Regions from separate parts of the Homo sapiens genome. Here all the other regions are linked to region 7. The links are contacts of gene promoters, found by promoter capture Hi-C in blood cells and fetal thymus (Javierre and others, 2016). All regions are on one chromosome and are shown on one strand. The core of a region is centred on a gene start or on the middle of the fragment in contact, and the rest is flanking DNA. Distances in the headings are between cores, read along the strand shown. Region 1 overlaps PTPRC (protein tyrosine phosphatase receptor type C). Region 2 has its middle 180 kb from the start of NEK7. Region 3 overlaps PTPRC (protein tyrosine phosphatase receptor type C). Region 4 has its middle 92 kb from the start of PTPRC-AS1. Region 5 overlaps PTPRC (protein tyrosine phosphatase receptor type C). Region 6 overlaps PTPRC (protein tyrosine phosphatase receptor type C). Region 7 holds the start of ATP6V1G3 (ATPase H+ transporting V1 subunit G3).

Region 1 (2,700 bases), core at 86-2,585, 200 kb before region 7:
TTTGTCTTCCTATTCCCCTATTGATACATATTTACGGTGTTTCCATTCTTTCATTGATATGTATTTCACTTTTTTTTTTTTTTTTTTTTTGCTATTTTGACAATGCTGAATGCAATGCACATTCTTGCAAATGTTTCTAGTTGATGCTTCTCTTGGGTATATGCATATATGTGATTTTGCTGGGTCAAATACAGACATTTTCAGTAATTACCATCACTTACAATCACCAAATGCATAGCATGGGCCAGGGACTTGTTTAAGTGCTTTATTTGTATTACTTTTGTGGTTATAAGTCTGTGAGGTATTATCATTGTCTCCATTTTACAGATGACTTAACTGAGGTGCAGTCAGACTAAAATTACTTAATAAACAATACCACTCACCCTCGTATTAATAATTAAAAGCAAGATTTGAAACCTGTAAGTGTAGTTTCTAAAACCAGCTGTTGATTACTATACTATTCTGTCTCTTCAGTTTAATTTTATGAGATGATGCCAAATCTATTTTCAGCATTTTTACTTTTTTTGCCAATCTGATATATGTTAACAGTAGTTCATTATTTTAAAAATTATATATTTTGTGGTCATCTTTCTTCCACAGTACTTTTAGGCACTAATGAAAAATGCTTCTAAGTATTTCTGGTGATTACCACGTTTTAGTTTTCAGGAAATCATCTACTGTTTGAGGTTGTGAAGAATTTGGATTTTTAAAAAATATCATTATTATCACTTGGAAAAGATTTAAGTCCAAAAAACCAAAGTGAGAATAATCACTAAAGGTTAGAACATACCTCTACTTGAACCATCAGGCATCTCTGTCGCCTTAGCTTGACAACATAACCATAAACATCCACTTTGTTCTCGGCTTCCAGGCCTTCTAGCATGGCATCAATTCCGATATAGGTTCCTGTGCGCCCAACACCAGCACTGGCAAACCAAGCAAAAAAAAGCAGAGGCATGATCATGGAAAAGCTGTCAGGTGTGAAGCCAATATAAGAATCTAAGCTTCTCCCATAGGTTGTTTCCCAAAATAGCAATTGCCAAAGGGAAAGATGTCTCTAACAGCCCTAGGCAGGTGGATTCTGTTGGAGTTTTTTTGTTGTTGTTTTTTTTTTTTGTTCGTTTTTCCTACCTGCAGTGCACCACAATGGGACCACTGAAGAAATTGCTGAAGGCATTCACTCTCCTTCTCAGTTTGAGGAGCAAGTGAGGATCCTCAGGCACCCCGTGGTCTGGCCAGCTGGTGAACTGAATGTGAGTCACCTCTCTTCCAGTTGCTTTTTCTTTTTTCTAGTCAAGAGATAATATTTTCTTTGAGATGATTTTTTTAAAGCAAACTATGAAACATAAATAAGTGGAAGGGAGTACCAGTACAAAGTCTCCTCGTGTAAACATAAACTACTCAAAAGAGTTCATAGTTTCCTCAGGTGTCTTATATATTTTCTCAACCATGGTTGTGTTTTCCTTTCTAATCAATAACTAGTAGTTAAGATATTGTGCAGGACTTGCATGTACTACCCTGTAAGCAATAACTTAACAGTAAGGTAAGTAAGGTAATACTTTCTTTAAAAGTATAACCAAAATTTCTAGGAACTTGCATGCTGTCAAGCAAAAAAAACCCAAAATAAACATACACCATAAAAGTGGGGTGCATGGGTGGAAGCTTTTTGGATTTGTGTTTAAAATGATTTGGTAAAGGTCATTCTCACAACTGTTTAAAATACTTCTGCTTGATAGGCCAGCAAACAGAACTAATTCATATGTGAGCAAAGTCTGATTAATTATTTGATGAACATTGTATTCCTTAGGCCTTCACATGGTAGCATTGTCAACACAGAATGTAGAGAGACGACTGAGGAAAGTCAGCCCCAGATTAGAGCTCAGGTTTGTTCTAATTTCAAGGTAACCACCATAAGATGCATAAGTCATAATTCTATGGCCAGGTATAAAGAACCATCTACATTTAGATAACAAAAGAAACACACAAACTGAGTTAATTAACACCAGTAAACCCAGACTACAGAATGTAGCCAGATAGGCATCAATCTAGAAATATATCCTCATATCTATGGAGCAGGTGCCTTTGTGGCTTAGTCAAACAAGTGTTTGGCCAGAAACTATTGATAGGATTGTTTCACAGCACTCTATAGACATAACAATTAGTAATACCATGGAAACCTAAGAAGACCTACGGAGATATATAGACTAAGTCTGTTTCTCCTGTAGAAAATATAGCTAGACTATACAAAAATAAAATTTAGATTACTAAAAGCCCTACAATAAATGAAATTAAGAGAAAATCTTAACCCCCATGTAAAGACTTGTAGTTTTTTAAACAGCTCTATCAAGAGACATTTTACAATCTTGATAGGTTGCATGTATCTAGGAATTTATCCATTTCTTCTAAGTTTTCCAATTCATTAGCATATAACTGCTCATAGTAGCATCTCATAATCTTTTAAATTTCTGAAGTATCAGTGGCAATGTCTCTTTTTTCATCTCTGACTGTACGCATTTGAGTCTCCACTCTTTTTTCCTTAGTCTGACTAAAGGTTTGTCAATTTTATCTTTTTTTTTGAGATAAAGTCTCACTGCAAAGCCCAGGCTTGAGTGTAATGATGCAATCTTGGCTCACTGCAACCTCGGCTTCCCAGGTTCAAGTGATTCTACTGCCTCAGTCTCCCAAGTAACTGGGATTACA
Region 2 (2,700 bases), core at 123-2,622, 200 kb after region 7:
ATCAGATCTTGTGAGAACTCTGTCACAAGACAGTGCGAGGGGGATTGTGCTAAACCATTAGAAACCACCCCCATGATCCAATCACCTCCCACCAGGCCCCACCTCCAACAATGGGAATTACAATTCAACATGAGATTTGAGCAGGGACACAGAGCCAAACCATATCAACTTCCAATCATTATTGACAGTGATCCCTAATGGTAGACTGCTGACATGGTAGAGTGATAATGAACAGAGGCAGAATCGAACACCAAAGAAGAAGGCTGACCCATCAAAGCAAGGGATTCTTAGGAAAAAAGGTAGGCATGCCCATTGGAATGTCAGTGCCCACACTGGAAATGGAAGTGGAGCTCAACAGATGGTTAGAAGTAGATGACTAGTTTTGATGATAAAAATTGATGAGACGTTTTCAGGGTTTTTTTCATTTAATAGACATTACGATAGGTCCCCCTAAAGATGTCCATGGCCTAATCCTTAGAGCCTGTGAACATGTTATCTTACCTGGCAAAAGTGTCTTTGCAGATGTGCTTAAGATTGAGGACCTTGAGATTGGGAGAGTACTGTGGATAATACAGATAGGCCCAATCTAATCACATGAGTTCTTAAAGGCAGAGAATCTTTCCCAACTGCAGAGAACCAGAGAGATGGCAGCATCAGAAGGATTCTACCTGCAGTTTCTGGCTTTGAAGATGGAAGAAGGGGCCATGAACCAAAGAAAGTGGGGAGCCTCTAGAAGTAGGAAAAGGCAAAGGAACACATTCTCCCCTAGAGCCTCCAGAAGGAATCAGCCCTGCTGAAATCTTATGAGACTCCTCTAAGATTTCTGACCTACAGGACTGTAAGATAATAACTTTGTATTATTTAATTTACTATAGCCCCAATAGAAAATGAAGATAAATATTTATGGAGTGCACCCTGGGCCAGCACTTGGGCTAAATACTAAAGCTACAACAGTGTGCAGAGTAGACCCCTTCCTGCCCTAATGAGGCTGACAGTCTGGGAATTAAGGTTTCTAAACCAAGTGAAAACTGTAGTAGAAATAAGTATAAAATAGGGAGGAAGATTCTTGTTAAGGCACTTACCTTCGGTTATATTGTCTCCAAACTATACTCCATATCTTAAAAACAGACAATTTCTGAATCAATTTTTCTTTAGTGTGTGTTTCACAAAAATTTAATGAATTTATATAAGTAACTTCAGGAACTTTTACTGTTGAGATAAAGTAGTACTCAAAAATGAATTTTAAAAAAAGAGTAAATAATTCTACAACATTATTTAGAAAGAACTTCCAGAGGGGATGAGGAGGATGAATAGCTAACAATGAACTTGGCAGAGGTAATAAAAACAAATGACCTAAAAACAGAAATACCATTTGATCCAGCAATCCTGTTTACTGGGTATATACCCAAAGGAATATAAATCATTCTATCATAAAGACACACATACACTTACATCCACTGCAGCACCATTCAGAATAGCAAAGACACGGAATCAACCTAAATGTTCATCAGTGGTAGACTGGATAAAGAAAACATGGTACATATATACCATGGAATACTATGCAGCCATTAAAAAGAATGAGATCATGCCCTTTCCAGGAATATAAAGAGAGCTAGATGCCATTATCCTTAGCAGAATAATGCAGGAAGAGAAAACCAAATGCCACATGTTCTCATTATAAGTGGAAGCTAAATGATGAGAACACATGGACACATAGAGAGGGACAATAGACACTGGGGCCTATCAGAGGGTGGAGGGTGGGAGAAAGGTGAGGATCAGGAAAAATAGCTAATGGGTACTAGGCTTAGTACATGGGTGATAAAATAATCTGCACAACAAACCCCCATGACACAATAGCTAATGGGTACTAGGCTTAGTACCTGGGTGATAAAATAATCTGCACAACAAACTCCCATGACACACATTTACTGTATCATAAGCCTGCACATGTACCCCTGAACCTAAAATAAAAGTTAAATTTAAAAATAATAAAATTTGAAAAAAGGATCTTCATTTTGTCTTAAGGACATTATTGAGTGACTTTACTCTTGAGCATGGTTTGCCAAAAGGATATGAACTAGTTAGAAATACTTAAAATCATCAAATAATTTGAAATGATTACACCATCTCAGCAATAAATGAGATATTAAATTTAAAAAATGACATACAGAGTTAAAAGCGGAAGGCTACAAATGTTTATGTGTAGTTTAGTAAAATTGGTTATTTATGAGCCACTACACAGAAATACAAATACATATATACCTATGACACATTGATTAACTGATTTTAAGTCACAAATATCTGAAGAAATGAAGCACGTTCTTTCATTATTCGACTTCAAAAATATATTTTGTATTTGGATTTAATGCAATATATTAAAGTGAATGCCATTTCTTGAGAAATAAAATACCTTCTTTTTTTGTTTTCACTGACAGATCCAATTGGCTTAGCTGGGAAGACAAAAAAAAATTGAAATAACTGACTTAAATAATCAGTCTACCCTTTTGGTGAAGATTAGCATGCTTAACTATATCATGTATCCTTATAGAAAATGCATCCTAATTTATGTGAAGATAAATTGGGAAGGAGACAGAAACCCATATTAATGGGAATATTGAGAAAGTGCCTTCTATCTGGCTTTAATAAAATAATGAACAATATTTTTAAATGACAACTATAAGAACTCTTCTATAACATTAA
Region 3 (2,742 bases), core at 118-2,617, 140 kb before region 7:
CTTTATGAACAATACTGGGAAAGTGTGGAAAATAGGTAAAGCAAAATATGTGACATAGCAATGGAAATTAAGAGGGCACATGTGTAGGTGTGTGACAATAAAGAGAAGGCATCACTATTTCTCAAAGTAAGAACTGCATTGAGCTTTCTCTCAAATTCTATAAACACATCAAATAAATATAAAATAAAACACAGTAATATATCTAGTGTTCCACATATTACAGTTACTACATTCTACACTTTGACTTTTATCTTCTAGGGATGAAATTTTCTACATTTTTTAAAACTTAAATGTCTTGTGTTTTCATTATTTAGTCAAAGGAGTATTTAGTAATATTTCAGTAGGTGGCACCATAGCACTAAAAAACTGTAAATTATCTAAGAGCTCTTTTTCCCATTATAATCCTGTTGTGAATCACCAATGGAATTGACTAGATACATTAAACAGATGAAAATGTAGATAACAGAACACTTGATCTTCAAAGCTGTGTTATTCTAACACATGTATTGTTACTGAATTTACCTTTCCCAATATGTTTCTTTTACAACTCAAAATGTTTAAATGATCACAAATCAAAGTTACCTTGAAGTCACACCCCTAAGTCCCTGATCAGAGATTTCAGCAAAAACTAGGAATCAATTTGAGTGAAAACGGCATTTCAAAAGACATACTTGGGCTTTAAATATCACCCGTTCTCCCTCCCCGCTAAAAAAAAAAGAAAAAAAAATGGGATGCTATTTCCTAGGGAATTTAAACCTGTCTAGTTCTGCAAATCTGGGAAAAGTACAAGGGCAGAAGGGTAAAATAGAATAGATTAAATAAATACTTATTCTCAGCATCTGCCCTAAAATGAATGATAGCATGTTTTGAAGGTTGAGAATGCATACTTGACCTCCATAAACATAAAGCCTGTACAAAAGTGGAAAAAAGCAAATCAAGACAAAAAATAAGGGTCAGCTAAAACAGATATGTATGGCTTTCCTTTCTTAGCAATGCATGATAATAATAAAGTGCACAATAAAAATAAGAGAATTGCACTTTTTTTATGCTAGAAATCTGCTATATGGTCCACAGACAATAAATCTAACAAATCATATTAAATTATTAAGTATTTATGGAGTAAGCACTCTGGGCAGCGACAAGCCAGGTATTATGATTTCAGAGAACCACAGGAAACAGTCTTTTCTACCCTCCATTAGCTTATCAGTAAATATAATAATGATGGCAACAGTTTACTGAAATGTTATGTAGCAGACACTATGCACACCTCTTTATATAATATATATGTATTTTTTTTCTTTTAAGCATCCCAGTAAGCCAATGAGTTAGCATTATTTATCCTTTTTTATAGGGAATGAAACTGGGACCTAAAAGAGTTTAGTAAATTGCTCACAGGCACACACGAGGAAAGTGCTAGATTTGAAATAGTGTCTATTTAATAATTTTCTTATTCTTTATGTAGACGTTATGTTAAAATATTGGGTATATTAATATTATTTTTGGAATCTCATGAGTAAAGGACTTTCTGCTTATCATCAGAAAATAATTCCAAAGATTTCTACTCAGACAGAAGCAAAGGATTTTAGTGATTATTGACATGCAGTTCATTTGATATATAAGGAAACTAAGACTCAGTGAGTGTAGTGCCTTTCTGATTTCATTCAATCTAGTTAAAGCACATGAATTTATGAGCTCCACCAATGTCCAAAGAATTTCAACATCCCTTTATTGAGGCCTTTTATTAAATACAAATGGACATCCAAGAAACACTAGAACAAAGCCTCTAATAAGAAAGAAAGATAGAGCTCAAATAAACAAAAGAGGCACTTGGGAGAATGAGGCAATGCAAGGAGCAAAAGAGAGGATAACCAACTACAATTCATATTTTCAGAAATGAGAAAACATTGCACCCATGAACAAAGAGCAAGAGGTTATAAAAAGCAACATCTCAAGATCAAGAGAAGAAGTCAATAGATACTGGCAAAAATCTTTTTTTTTGTTTTAAAGAAACAGCACTACAATAAAAGATAACATTTAAAAATCACAAAATATCAAGGGAGGGGAGAGTCGTGGGAGCAAAAGACTGTTCTTACTTACTCTAGGCCTTATGGTACTATTTAAACTTTCAAATTATATACACACTTTTAAATAATAATGCAAATAATAAAGAAAAATATCAGTATGTAAAGCAGTATTGAGGATAAAGAAGGCAAATTTTTGTGGCCATGAGAGGAATAAAATCAAATAATTAAAAAATTTTAAAGATAGCAACCATATCTAGCTGTCTCCCAATGACTTATGGTGTCCAATATTTACAATAATGTTTTTTGCTTGTGAATACATATGACTTTGCAAACACACACCTCAAAACTAGGAATGCATTTGTAGGTATTTTATATTTGGTTTAAAACATCATGTTATATATTTCAGGCATGTTGATTAACGAAACAATTAATGACAAAAAAATTAATAAAGGCTACTAGATAACCATTTAAGAACAATCAGTTACACTGCTTTTTTTCTGTCTTAAACTATTTATCTACAAGTCAGGGGGAAAATTTTATCGCTTCCTGTGCAATGATGGTCAAATTGAAGTCTTTGATTTAGATTTGTGTGCCTTTAAATGTCCCATAGTCAAATTTGTTTCAGAAGTAATTCATGCTACATGCCCTTTTGAGATATTTATAAAGTGTGTTAATATATTAAAAGCATAGAAACTTATGTCACTTCGTTTAGCTCAAG
Region 4 (2,700 bases), core at 140-2,639, 220 kb before region 7:
CTGACGGAGATACAACAAAAAAAGAAAACATCAGGCCAATATCCTTGACAAATGTTGATGCAAAAATTCTCAACAAAATACTAGCAAACCAAATCCAGCAGTACATCAAAAAGCTTATCCACCATGATCAAGTAGACTTTATCCCTGGGATGCAAGGTTGGTTCAACAAACACAAATCAATAAATGTGATTCATCACAGAAACAGAACTAAAGACAAAAACTACATGATTATCTCAATAGCTGCAGAAAAGATTTTTGATCAAATTCAACATCCATTCATGTTGAAATCTCTTGATAATCTAGGTATTGAAGAAACATACCTCAAAATAATGAGCGCCACATATGATAAACCCACAGCTACCATCATACTAAATGAGTAAAAGCTGGAAGTATTCCCATTGAAAACCGCCACAAGACAAGGATGCCCTCTCTCGCCACTACTGTCCAACATAGTATTGGAAGTTCTGGCCAGGGCAATCAGGCAAGAGAAAGAAAGCAAGGGCATGCAAATAGGAAGAGAGGAAGTCAAACTATTCCTGCTTGTAGCCGTCATGATCCTGTATCTAGAAAATCCTATAGTCTCAGCCCAAAAGCTTCTCAGGATAATGAATAACTTTAGCAAAGTCTCAGGATACAAAATCAATGTGCAAAAATCACTAGCATTGCTATAACCAACAATAGCCAAGCTGAGAGGCAAACTCCCATTCACAATTGCCACAAAAATAATAAAATGCTTAGGAATACAGCTAACTAGAGAGGTGAAGTCTCTCTCTGCAAGGAGAACTACAAATGTTCTTTTAAGTGAAGTAGATATAGTTGATTCTTTCATGTTAAAGCTGCGAGATTAAAAAAAATAGGATGCCAAGTTAAATTTAAATTTCTAATAAACAAGAAACAATTTTTGGTGCAAATATGTCCCAAATACTGCATGAGACATACTTGCACTAAAAAACTATTCTTGTTTCATTTAAAATTCGAATGTAACCCAATGCCTTGTATTTTATCTGACAATCAAATTTCATGTCATTTTGAAGAAAGTAATCATGGATAGTTTGAATAAAGAAGAAGAGTTTTCTTTACGGGATCTTAGCAAAAAACAAGAATTCATTTGTTGTAAGTTATCAAAAGCTTTTAATTGTCCTACAAATATAATTAAAATTTAGGAATCACTTTTGATTTGGGCAAAGAATAAAATGTAAAGAGAAATGTAAAGAGGTTTACAAAAGAATGAATACAAATAAAATGGACCCTTAGAAGAATAAATATTTTCACTTAAAACAGGACATAAAAAAGCCTAATTTTGAATGTCTTTGAAGAACCTTCAGATCATTCCAGATGTAAAATTTGTGTAGGAGATTGAAAGCATAGCCTTTTCTACTCATTTTAACAGATATTCATTTCCTTTGAAGTGATATATTTTAAGGTCTTCATATCAAGAAACATGCTGCAATTAGCTAGGAGCAAATAGCATTCACTTATTCAGATCTAATATGGTGTTATGAAATCATCTTATAACCAATATCTGGTATAAATCTAAAATTAAGATCAGTCCTAGTTAGTTGTAAAAATAAATTTTATGTTTAATATTTTAGAGGGAAAAAAACAGGAAAATTTCTCTGTACAAATATAAGAATTCTGAGGGGAAGCTTAACGCATTTAAAATTATCTTTGCAAAGACAGATGTTCAGCTAATCACTTTACACAGTTTTCCTCTTGCAAGAAAATATTAAAATATATATATCTCTTAAATGAAAATATTTATTTGTCACTTATGTACACAATTAATAGCTTGGGACCTGAAGTTTAGGCTTACTAAATGTATCTTTTATTCCCATTGAATTCTAATACCAGGAATAAAGCAAACAACTTTAAAAGAAACCTAGAAGTTTCTTTTTGCCCAATAAATGTAATGTTCTGGATTCATAACATTATCCCTACAGTGTACCAGGCTTTTGTAAGTCAAAACTTTTTGCTTAATATTTCTGACTGGATCCTAGAATTAATAATGGCAGTGCCAAACTTTAGCAAATAAATCTTTTATACCTTGTAACAGATCCCCATTAATGCAACCCATGGCCATAGACATAGACCTATAATTCACATATTATTTCTTTCTACAGGTAAAAATCATAGACATATAATTCCATGTTCTAGTGCCATGGGTCTCACCTTCGGTTTAGTATATGTTCTCACAAAGTAGTGGGCTTTCTGAGCCACTATTTCATCTCTTTCTTTACAACAAATTCCCATATGTAGAAAAAAAGTCTCAAGCTTGATTCTTAAACTAATAGAAATTATTATTGCTCTATTTTCTAAGTAGTTTTTAATCTTTCAAAAGATAGTGTCAGGTGGAAAACACATTTAAAACACACAACTACATTTGGAAGATGTTACTTGCAATTGAAACTTCTGAAGAAAAACTTTGCTTGTAGATTATTTAGACTTTCTGCTATTTGTATTTTGAAGCAATTAACAGATAAAGTAGGCATACATCATAATGTTCTATTGAACATGAGAACTGCAAATTTTAACTACATTATCTAGAAAATGGCAACTGATCAAGTTTCAATAAAAGAAAAGAATGCATAATAGTTTGAGTGACTGAAGAGGTAAGTGAAAGCAAACTTTATTTTTTGTGCCCATAATTGGTGATTCTAATCCCCTTTTCTCATTAATAAGTAAAGATGTAATAAGTAACCT
Region 5 (2,812 bases), core at 304-2,803, 180 kb before region 7:
TAATCCCAGCACTTTGGGAGGCCAAGGCAGGTGGATCATTTGAGATCAAGAGTTCAAGACTAGCCTAACCAACATGGTGAAATCCCTTCTCTACTAAAAATACAAAAATTAGCCAGGTGTGGTGGTGCCTGCCTGTAATCCCAGCTACTCAGGAAGCTGAAGCAGGAGAATCACTTGAACCCAGGAGGCAGAAGTTGCAGTGAGCCGAGATTATGCCACTGCACTCCAGCCTGGGCAACAAGAGCGAAACTCCCTCTAAAAACAAAAACAAAAACAAACAAAACAAAACAAACAAAAAATTCAGGTAAGACCAAGAATAAAGACAGAAACCTAGCATTTCCAGGGGAGGAAAACTTGGGAACAGACCAAAAAAAGAGAGAGAGAGAGAGAGAGAGAGAGAATCAGGATGGAATTAGAAAGTAAAATTGGATTCAGGAAAATAAGACAGAAATAATTTTTAAATTCTAAAATTTTTAACTTAGAATTTTATACCAAGTCGATACACTGAACAAGTGCCAGAGCAGAATAAAAATTTTTTTTGTATGGGAGAATTAGAATTATTTTTCTTACACTAGAGAACATATATCAGTGAACTCAGACAGAAAAAAAAATAACTATGTGTGATACAGCAAATCTAAACCAGAAAACTGATGGGGGAATATTTCAAGATGGCATGTGAGAGTCCAGATCAGAGCAAGAAGAAAGGGTCCCCAGGAGTTCAATTGACAATGATGTCAAAGTACAGGTGGTGGAATATTATGCCGGGGAAACCCAACAACACATCCCTAGTAGCTGTACCCTAGCAATTCACAGCCCAAGTCCTTTCCTGGAACAGATATCACTATTTTAAAAGAAACTATATTATTTATCTCTTAGGATAATGATATTGTGAGCAGAGAGTGAATACAATGTTGTCTCCTTTGTGGAAAAAGATGAGGGCTAATTTTTTGGCTCCGTTGACCTGGAAACCTGATAAAAGTGGAATATTAGCTGGTTACCAGACAACATTGCTAATGGCAAAATGACCCTTGATTGCTAAACTACACCTGAACAGGGAGTGCTATATGTGAACTCTATTGTCCTCATGGGAAGTACCAGCTTTGGGTTTCCCTGAGTGCAGTGCCCGCTCATAACTGAGCACACCCCTGTTGGCATGTCTGGAAGCTATGCCCATGGAAATAGTATAAGAGATACTGATTCCTTTTGGAATGCAGCTCCTACACCTACACATGTGGTCTCATTCTCTCATATCTCAGTTGTCTTTGAGAGTGTCATAAGAAAAGTAGCTGGATTGCTGTGTGCACTGCTGCAAGGATTCCCGCTGCAAGGATTCCCACTGCCAGGCTCCCTTGCTAGCATGCTGTGCTTTTTGTTCTGTGTCTTTCCAGGTGAAATGTTTCAGATCTGGCCTATTAAGATGTGAGTGTGAATGTTCAGCTGAGTCTATGACTGCTATAAATTATTTACAATTTAATAGGAAAGAGTCAATGAAGTCATTTTTATTATAAAGATATTATAAAAGAAAAAGGTAATGTGGAAATAAAATCAAAGCTATCTTGCTGGACTTTTTTGACATTTAACACAGGGAGTTTTTATTTCATAAATCTGAGCAGAAAGAACTAAAACTTTGCAGAGGGCTTAGTAAAGCAGTTTGGAAAATAAGCTGTTTTTATATTTTCTCTTTTGACTTTGCATTCATACCAGTGATTGTGCACATGCATATGTGCATATGTAACATATGTAAGAGAGGAAGAACTAGAAGTGGCAAAGATAGAAAGACCTAGAAGTTGCTGACAACAAAGTACATACAGGCTTAAATAATTCTATTTACAATGTTAACCAGTAGAGAAAGCCCAAAGTAGAGTACTAGGTCTCCTTCCTCCATAGGCTCAGATCAATTGGTAATGTTAGTAACTCTAGAAAGAGCAGTATACAATATTGTTTATATATATATATATATATATGAAGGAAACTATAAGGAGACCCAAAAATAGAAATGGTTAAAAGTGGTTGCCTGGCAAACAGAATTGTGGGTGGGGAATGTAACATGCAGCTGTTATTTTCATTATTATAATGAAATTTAATTCTAAGTAATTTTTCATGTACACCTTTACTTTGATGAAAATATTTTAAATATCAGTGATAAATATTTACATAAGTATATTGTTATTAGGGAGTGCTTATATTAGCTTCCATTAAGTAAATCAAGACAGACTTGTATCTAAGGCCCACTTCTGCTAAACATATGCTGAAGAGACAGAATAAAATAGATAATCTAAAATAGTACACGAAAAATGTTACTAACATGACGATATTTCATAAACATAAACATAATTTAATAGTTTGGGTATATAAATCCTCTTATGAATTCAACAAACCTTTAATAATTGAATCTCCTAACTTGAATTTAAGATATTGTATTTAAATATATTTACATATATATGTATGGTTTTACTGACAATTAAAAATATTACATTTACGGAAGAGATATTATTTAAGCATTTAACAATCAAATGTGATTATAAGTGTAAAATAATATAGCTTTATAAGCATTAATATATATCTTAATATATATAATAAATAGCCCAGTGATAACTTACAAGATGTTGAATGATGTAAAATAAAGGGTTCTCCAGGATAGTCTCCATTGTGAAAATAGGCCTGAATTTCAGTAACAAAAAATAAAATAATTAGTTTGCTAATGTGAATTTATATATATATATATATTATATATCACAATGTAAAACATTTATATTATCTTTCATACCATGCATACAATAAAAGTATGCTGATTTGCTTTAAACTTCAAGGT
Region 6 (2,700 bases), core at 167-2,666, 170 kb before region 7:
TTAAAAAAATTACACGGCTCTGGAATCCCTTTTCCAGAATGCATTTGGCTAAGAGATGCTTCCCCAGAGTCTGCCCGACGCCTGTCACCCCCTCCTCTTTCCAAGCAGTAGCTTAGCTGACAAAACCAACTTGATCTCACTAACATGACCATAACCTTCCTTTTTATGAATGTATTTTGGTTCTTCCCATACACATCAAATCCTTTATGTTTCTCCCTAATATATTTCAGATAAATTTGTACTTAAAAGAATAAATATATGTACATATATAATTAATACTTCATTTAAGTAGAGGAGAATAAAGAAAGCTTGCAGACAATCACTTAGCAGGATAAACTATATTTAGTGCACATAAACATCTCCCTGTTAAATAAGTAGAAGTGGTGATTAATGGATGTAAACAGAAGGCTTATTTGACTCTATCATTTTTACTTGGTTAAGACAGCAGAAAGTTCACCCACTTGTTTCCAAGGAATTTCCTTTCCCTCAGCCCTGTTCTCTCACCAGACTAGCTCCTGTGACCACTGGAGAACACCACACACAAAAGTGTACTGTTTTTATAAATTTATTAAAAGAAATAAATTGATATTTACCTGGTGGCACATCTAATATTAATGTCTTATCAGGAGCAGTACATGAATTATGAGATATGGAAACAGACGCATTTTTACATTCTGTAAGGTTATGCACCTCATTGTTTGTGCAAGTATTGTTTCCACATTCCACATTCTCATTAACATTTAGCTTTGCTGTAAATAATTTAGTTTCCTTGTTATATAAGTAATCCACAGTGATGTTTGCATATTTTTCATCTAAAAGAAAATAGAACATTGAGTGTTATTTTTCCAGAATAAATAAAACTACATTAATGCAAATGCCAAAATATCAAATCAACTAACCAAATATCCCCAAAAAACATGAAAAAGAAAAAACACATTAGGTGCCTCCATATCATTTTTTTCGTAATTATCTGTGCTTTACTGCCCTAACAAGGACCTCAGCTTGTAAATTTATATTTGGATGATTACCAGATAAGTGTCTGTCTTCCTAGCTGGACTTGGAACTTCCATGAGAGCAAAGTCTAGGCTATTTTTATTATCACTGTAAATTCAGGAGTATGCATAATATGTATCATTAATGGGAACTCACTAGTTACTTGTTGACTTGATGCACAAATAAATGATGCATTTGAGAAATTTATTCTTGCTTTATAATTTTCTTGTTTTCTAAAACGTAGTTATTAACCACCTGTTTCTTGATATATGTGGGGCATTAATTACTCAGGGATCAGAAGCCCTCATTCTTTCCTTAACTTGGGTAAAATTATGATTGATAATATACCTCCAAAGCACCTTTGTTTAGTGTCAACAATTTCTGCTGACTGATAAAAATATCTTTACAACAAATATAAATTTATTCATTTGTTTTTATTCAACAAAAATTATTAAGCCCTTGTCATATGTAAGACATGGTCACCAATACTAGGAATTCAAAGGCAAGTTAGATATAATCAGCTTTTAGAAATGTATAATCCAGTGTGGAGGCAGACACAAGCATGAATTGCAGGAGACATACAAACCTCTAAAATAAGATTATGCAGGAAATAATGTGGCACTAGAAAGAGAGAGATCTGTTCCATTTGGAGGTATAGGACAGGATTTCCAGAGAAAGTGACTTAGTTTGTGTTTTAAAATATGAGCAGGAAATAGAAAAATAGACATGGGGTTTGGGGGATGAGGTTGGAGCAGAATTCCAATTGTAGAGGAAGAGCAGGAGTGGCCACAGAGGCAGGAAGGAACAGTATGTGTTTACAAATCTGTAAGTGGGCCAGGCGTGGTGGATCATGCCTGTAATCCTAGCATTTTGGAAGGCCGAGTCAGGTTGATCACCTGAGGTCAGGAGTTCAAGACCAGCGTGGGCAACATGGTGAATCCCAATCTCTACTAAAAATACAAAAATCAGCTGGGCTCGGTGGCATGTGCCTATAGTCCCAGCTACTTGGGAGGCTGAGGCAGGAGAATCACTTGAACCCAGGAGGCAGAGGTTGCAGTAAGCTGAGATTGTACCACTGCACTCCAGCCCGGGCAACAGAGTGAGAAAAAAAAAAAAAAAAGAAAGAAAGAACTAACGAATGAAAGAAAGAAAGAAAAGAAAACTGAAAGTGGTTCCATATTACTTAAGTGAAGAACATAAGGAGGCAATGATTCAAGAGGCGGGAGGAGAGATGAATGACAACCGGATTACAAAAGATCATATTAATTAAACAGACATATGAAGGCCACTCTTTACACTAAATGTATGGAAAGCTACTGAAGGCAGTGACTCCAGTGGTTAGACTTAGAAATGAATGGAGGAATAAGCCCTGACCATGAAGAACCGCTTTGCTTCAACTGAGAATCAAGGAAGAAAATGAGAAAAAAAAAAAGAGAGACAAACTGTTTTCAAGTATCTGCTTTGAGCCAGCCCCTAACAAGCAAGACAGAAAGAGAGAGAAAAAGAGAGATTTTTCTTCTTGATAAGCTTTGAAGGTATTATCCACATTTTATATTTATCATCACACTGAATCCTTGTCCCCCTCCCCCTCACCAACAAACTTGCTGTTATTCCATTTTTTTTTCAAATACCTAAATTAAATTAAGTGGCTTTACCAAAGTTGTCTAACTGGAAAACTTAGTTTTCAACTTTTATTTTGGATTCCAG
Region 7 (2,700 bases), core at 134-2,633:
CCAAAGGCTTTTTCCTCTCTAGGACTTCTTCCTGTTAAGCCACCTTGTATCTTTTTGTCTGGAGGGATCATACAAGAGTTGTGCTTGTTCGAAAATCGGTTTATCCCAGTTACACCAGGTATTTAATTACGCAATACAAATTAAGTACTTTATAAGCTGATTAAATGTGACTTCAAAAAAAAAAAAAAAAGTAAAAGTGATCCTGTGGAAAAGTTTTTCCTTTTGAAAATATTTGCTGAAAATGCACACATAATGTAGGCATGCAGATATGGATGAGACAACTTGAAAAGATTAGGAGAAAATAATCATTAAAGCCTTAAAAGATTTAGTGCCCAGATTGTTTTACAATTGTCTTTAAATCCAGACACCTTATTAAAGAAAATGAACCTGGCACTTACATATGAGGCAATAGAGGTATAGTTTATGAAAGCAATAATACGTGAAACCCCAATCTGCAAATCGTATCGGGGGGAAAGCCTTATTCTAAGTCAACAGATTAGCTTTTCACTTCAAATAAAAATTTTAGATACATATAAATGATACTTTGTGGTTCTTCTCTGTGACCAATATTCTGATTTGTCCAATTGCTACTGGATCGAATCAAATCAAGTATGATGGATTTTATTGTATTATCTTAGGACAATACTCACCACAAACACTGAATAATATAAAATGCATGTTTAAATTATTTTAACTTAATCCCAAAACCTACAGTTATAGTCTATTTCTATCATGATTACTACTACTAAAATTACTAATTGTTTAGTCACCATAGTAAGATCTTCCTGGAACTTCAACCTACAGCATTACTTAAGAGCAGCACAATGCCCAAAAGAAATCTTTTTATTCCAGTCACCTGAGACCTTGGGGGAAAAAAATCCTTAGTCCACCATCTATGCACAAAGCTAGGGAATCTCTTTCCTAACAAAAGATTAACACGTTTTCTCCAAGCAGATAACTGAATCACTAGAAACAAATAAAGAAAAAGACCTGAAACAAAGTACTGCAGGTACAAAGAGCAAAGATCTTGTTACTTAAAAGAAAAACTCAGTAAACATGTCAATGTTTCTTGGAAGATTAGGGAAACCAACATTCTTAAAAGGTCTCTTATTCATTATTTATAAGTAGATGCAACACCTCATTTATACCTCCTTATCTCATACAGAAGAGCTAAGATTGGCAGAAATGGTAAGTTCTCAATTTATGCACATTGGTTTAACTTGTTTTTCTAGATTCCACCTTGGGCTTTCCTTGGGACCCAGCTATCCAGCCCAATAAAGCCAGTTTGAAACAGCTGCATTTGGAACTTGCTGTTGACACAATAATCTGAGTTATATGTTAATTTCTAAAAGAATAAATGAACCCATTACTTCCCAGATTTCACAGAAGCCACTTGCTTGGAGCAGACTACCATGACAAGCCAGTCTCAGGGGATCCACCAGCTTCTTCAGGCAGAAAAACGGGCCAAGGACAAGCTAGAGGAAGCCAAGAAGAGTAAGTCTCACCTGTGAGGGGTCTGTCACGAAATAAACAAAGCAGTGGAATGCAGGGATAAGCATAGACTTTTGGATTAGGCAGACCTTGTTTCAAACTTTGGTTTACTGTACTCCCTGTGAGACCTTCACCCATTCATTAAAATTACCCAGCCATATGTTCCTTATTTCTAGAGCAGGGATGAAGTTTCCTCATTCAGATCCTTTTGAGAGGTCATGTGTTCATGGACATTAAGATTATAGAGATGTGGGCTTAAGCCTTGGCTATGCCATGCCTGTTTTCTCAACATTGTTAGGGGGTAGAAAACCTCTGGATTGAATCTACTTATTAGTGAGTAAACCTGAGCAAATTACTTATTTTTTATAAGCATCAGTTTTCATTTCCATAAAATCAGAATAATAATGGCTCATTCTCATCCCTCTCTTGGTAGCTTTTTAACATCTAATATTTTAAAATATTTTCATTTTATTCTCATTTTCTACCTCTCTTTTTATTTTTATTAATTTATTTTTTAAGAGATGAGGGTCTCACTATGTTGCCCTGGCTGAACTCCAACTCCTGGACTCAAGAGATCCTGCTGCCTCAGCCTGCCAAGTAGCTGGGACTACAGGCACTTGCCACTGTACTCAGCTCTCTTTTCATTTGGTCATGCATTCATGTACTTACATATAGAATGTCCTCAATGAACTTCAACACCTTTTCTATTCTCTTTGATACAACAGCCAAATGAATAGGATATTAACATTATTCCCAATGTATGCAGAAATGGAGTCACTGATTTGTTCAAGGTTATATTTTAAAAATAGAAAATATTGTGCCAGGCACCATGCTCATTGCTTATCTTTATTCCTCACAACCTTTACTGAAAAAGCAAAAGTGATGCTTAGAGAAATTATACAACTTGTCTAAGGTCACACAGAGGGTAAATGGTAGAGACAAGATTTAGATGAGCTATAATTTCCAAGCCCAGATCTTAACCACTGTGCTTTACAAAATTTACACAATTTGCATAATAAAAAAATTAATATGTCTCAGATCTACAACTGGAATTCAGATTCCCAAGGCCAAGACATTTTTTTCACTATCCCATTTCATATCACCTCATTATTCAATCTACAATAATTTGTAGTGTCATTCACTCTCCTTGTGTGTCCTGCCTCTGCAATTAGATTCAGTCTGGCAAAACAGGGGCCATATTTTCAAAAT

The links. The method cuts DNA at HindIII sites, captures the fragments that hold promoters and counts their contacts. A CHiCAGO score of 5 or more calls a contact.
Region 1: a fragment that was not itself captured here is called in contact with the fragment with the promoter of ATP6V1G3 in region 7 in 3 of 17 cell types (non-activated CD4 T cells, activated CD4 T cells and naive CD4 T cells); the score reaches 10.9 in non-activated CD4 T cells.
Region 2: a fragment that was not itself captured here is called in contact with the fragment with the promoter of ATP6V1G3 in region 7 in 1 of 17 cell types (neutrophils); the score reaches 5.4 in neutrophils.
Region 3: a contact is called between a fragment that was not itself captured here and the fragment with the promoter of ATP6V1G3 in region 7, in 9 of 17 cell types (non-activated CD4 T cells, naive CD4 T cells, total CD4 T cells and 6 more). The highest score is 20.2, in non-activated CD4 T cells.
Region 4: a fragment that was not itself captured here is called in contact with the fragment with the promoter of ATP6V1G3 in region 7 in 1 of 17 cell types (non-activated CD4 T cells); the score reaches 5.3 in non-activated CD4 T cells.
Region 5: a fragment that was not itself captured here is called in contact with the fragment with the promoter of ATP6V1G3 in region 7 in 4 of 17 cell types (non-activated CD4 T cells, activated CD4 T cells, naive CD4 T cells and 1 more); the score reaches 9.7 in non-activated CD4 T cells.
Region 6: a fragment that was not itself captured here is called in contact with the fragment with the promoter of ATP6V1G3 in region 7 in 6 of 17 cell types (non-activated CD4 T cells, activated CD4 T cells, total CD4 T cells and 3 more); the score reaches 10.9 in non-activated CD4 T cells.

Annotation. Positions count from the first base shown.
Region 1 is chr1:198,740,458-198,743,157 of GRCh38, reverse strand. It overlaps PTPRC (protein tyrosine phosphatase receptor type C), which reads right to left. Exons shown (of 33, transcript NM_002838.5): 24 at 1,132-1,289; 25 at 791-926. Among named protein-coding and RNA genes, the nearest start is that of PTPRC-AS1, 75 kb to the right of the region's middle. The HindIII fragment of the contact is 658 bases long and covers 1,007-1,664 here.
Region 2 is chr1:198,334,768-198,337,467 of GRCh38, reverse strand. No RefSeq gene overlaps it. Among named protein-coding and RNA genes, the nearest start is that of NEK7, 180 kb to the right of the region's middle. The HindIII fragment of the contact is 3,725 bases long and covers 1-2,700 here.
Region 3 is chr1:198,683,930-198,686,671 of GRCh38, reverse strand. The region is part of intron 2 of PTPRC (protein tyrosine phosphatase receptor type C); the gene reads right to left. Among named protein-coding and RNA genes, the nearest start is that of PTPRC-AS1, 18 kb to the right of the region's middle. The HindIII fragment of the contact is 7,286 bases long and covers 1-2,742 here.
Region 4 is chr1:198,757,757-198,760,456 of GRCh38, reverse strand. No RefSeq gene overlaps it. Among named protein-coding and RNA genes, the nearest start is that of PTPRC-AS1, 92 kb to the right of the region's middle. The HindIII fragment of the contact is 518 bases long and covers 1,131-1,648 here.
Region 5 is chr1:198,722,265-198,725,076 of GRCh38, reverse strand. PTPRC (protein tyrosine phosphatase receptor type C) reads right to left here. Exons shown (of 33, transcript NM_002838.5): 15 at 2,601-2,661. Among named protein-coding and RNA genes, the nearest start is that of PTPRC-AS1, 57 kb to the right of the region's middle. The HindIII fragment of the contact is 3,520 bases long and covers 1-2,812 here.
Region 6 is chr1:198,704,846-198,707,545 of GRCh38, reverse strand. PTPRC (protein tyrosine phosphatase receptor type C) reads right to left here. Exons shown (of 33, transcript NM_002838.5): 9 at 594-812. Among named protein-coding and RNA genes, the nearest start is that of PTPRC-AS1, 39 kb to the right of the region's middle. The HindIII fragment of the contact is 2,212 bases long and covers 311-2,522 here.
Region 7 is chr1:198,539,363-198,542,062 of GRCh38, reverse strand. It overlaps ATP6V1G3 (ATPase H+ transporting V1 subunit G3), which reads left to right and starts at 1,383. Exons shown (of 3, transcript NM_001376861.1): 1 at 1,383-1,494. The coding sequence starts at 1,413. The HindIII fragment of the contact is 10,140 bases long and covers 1-2,700 here.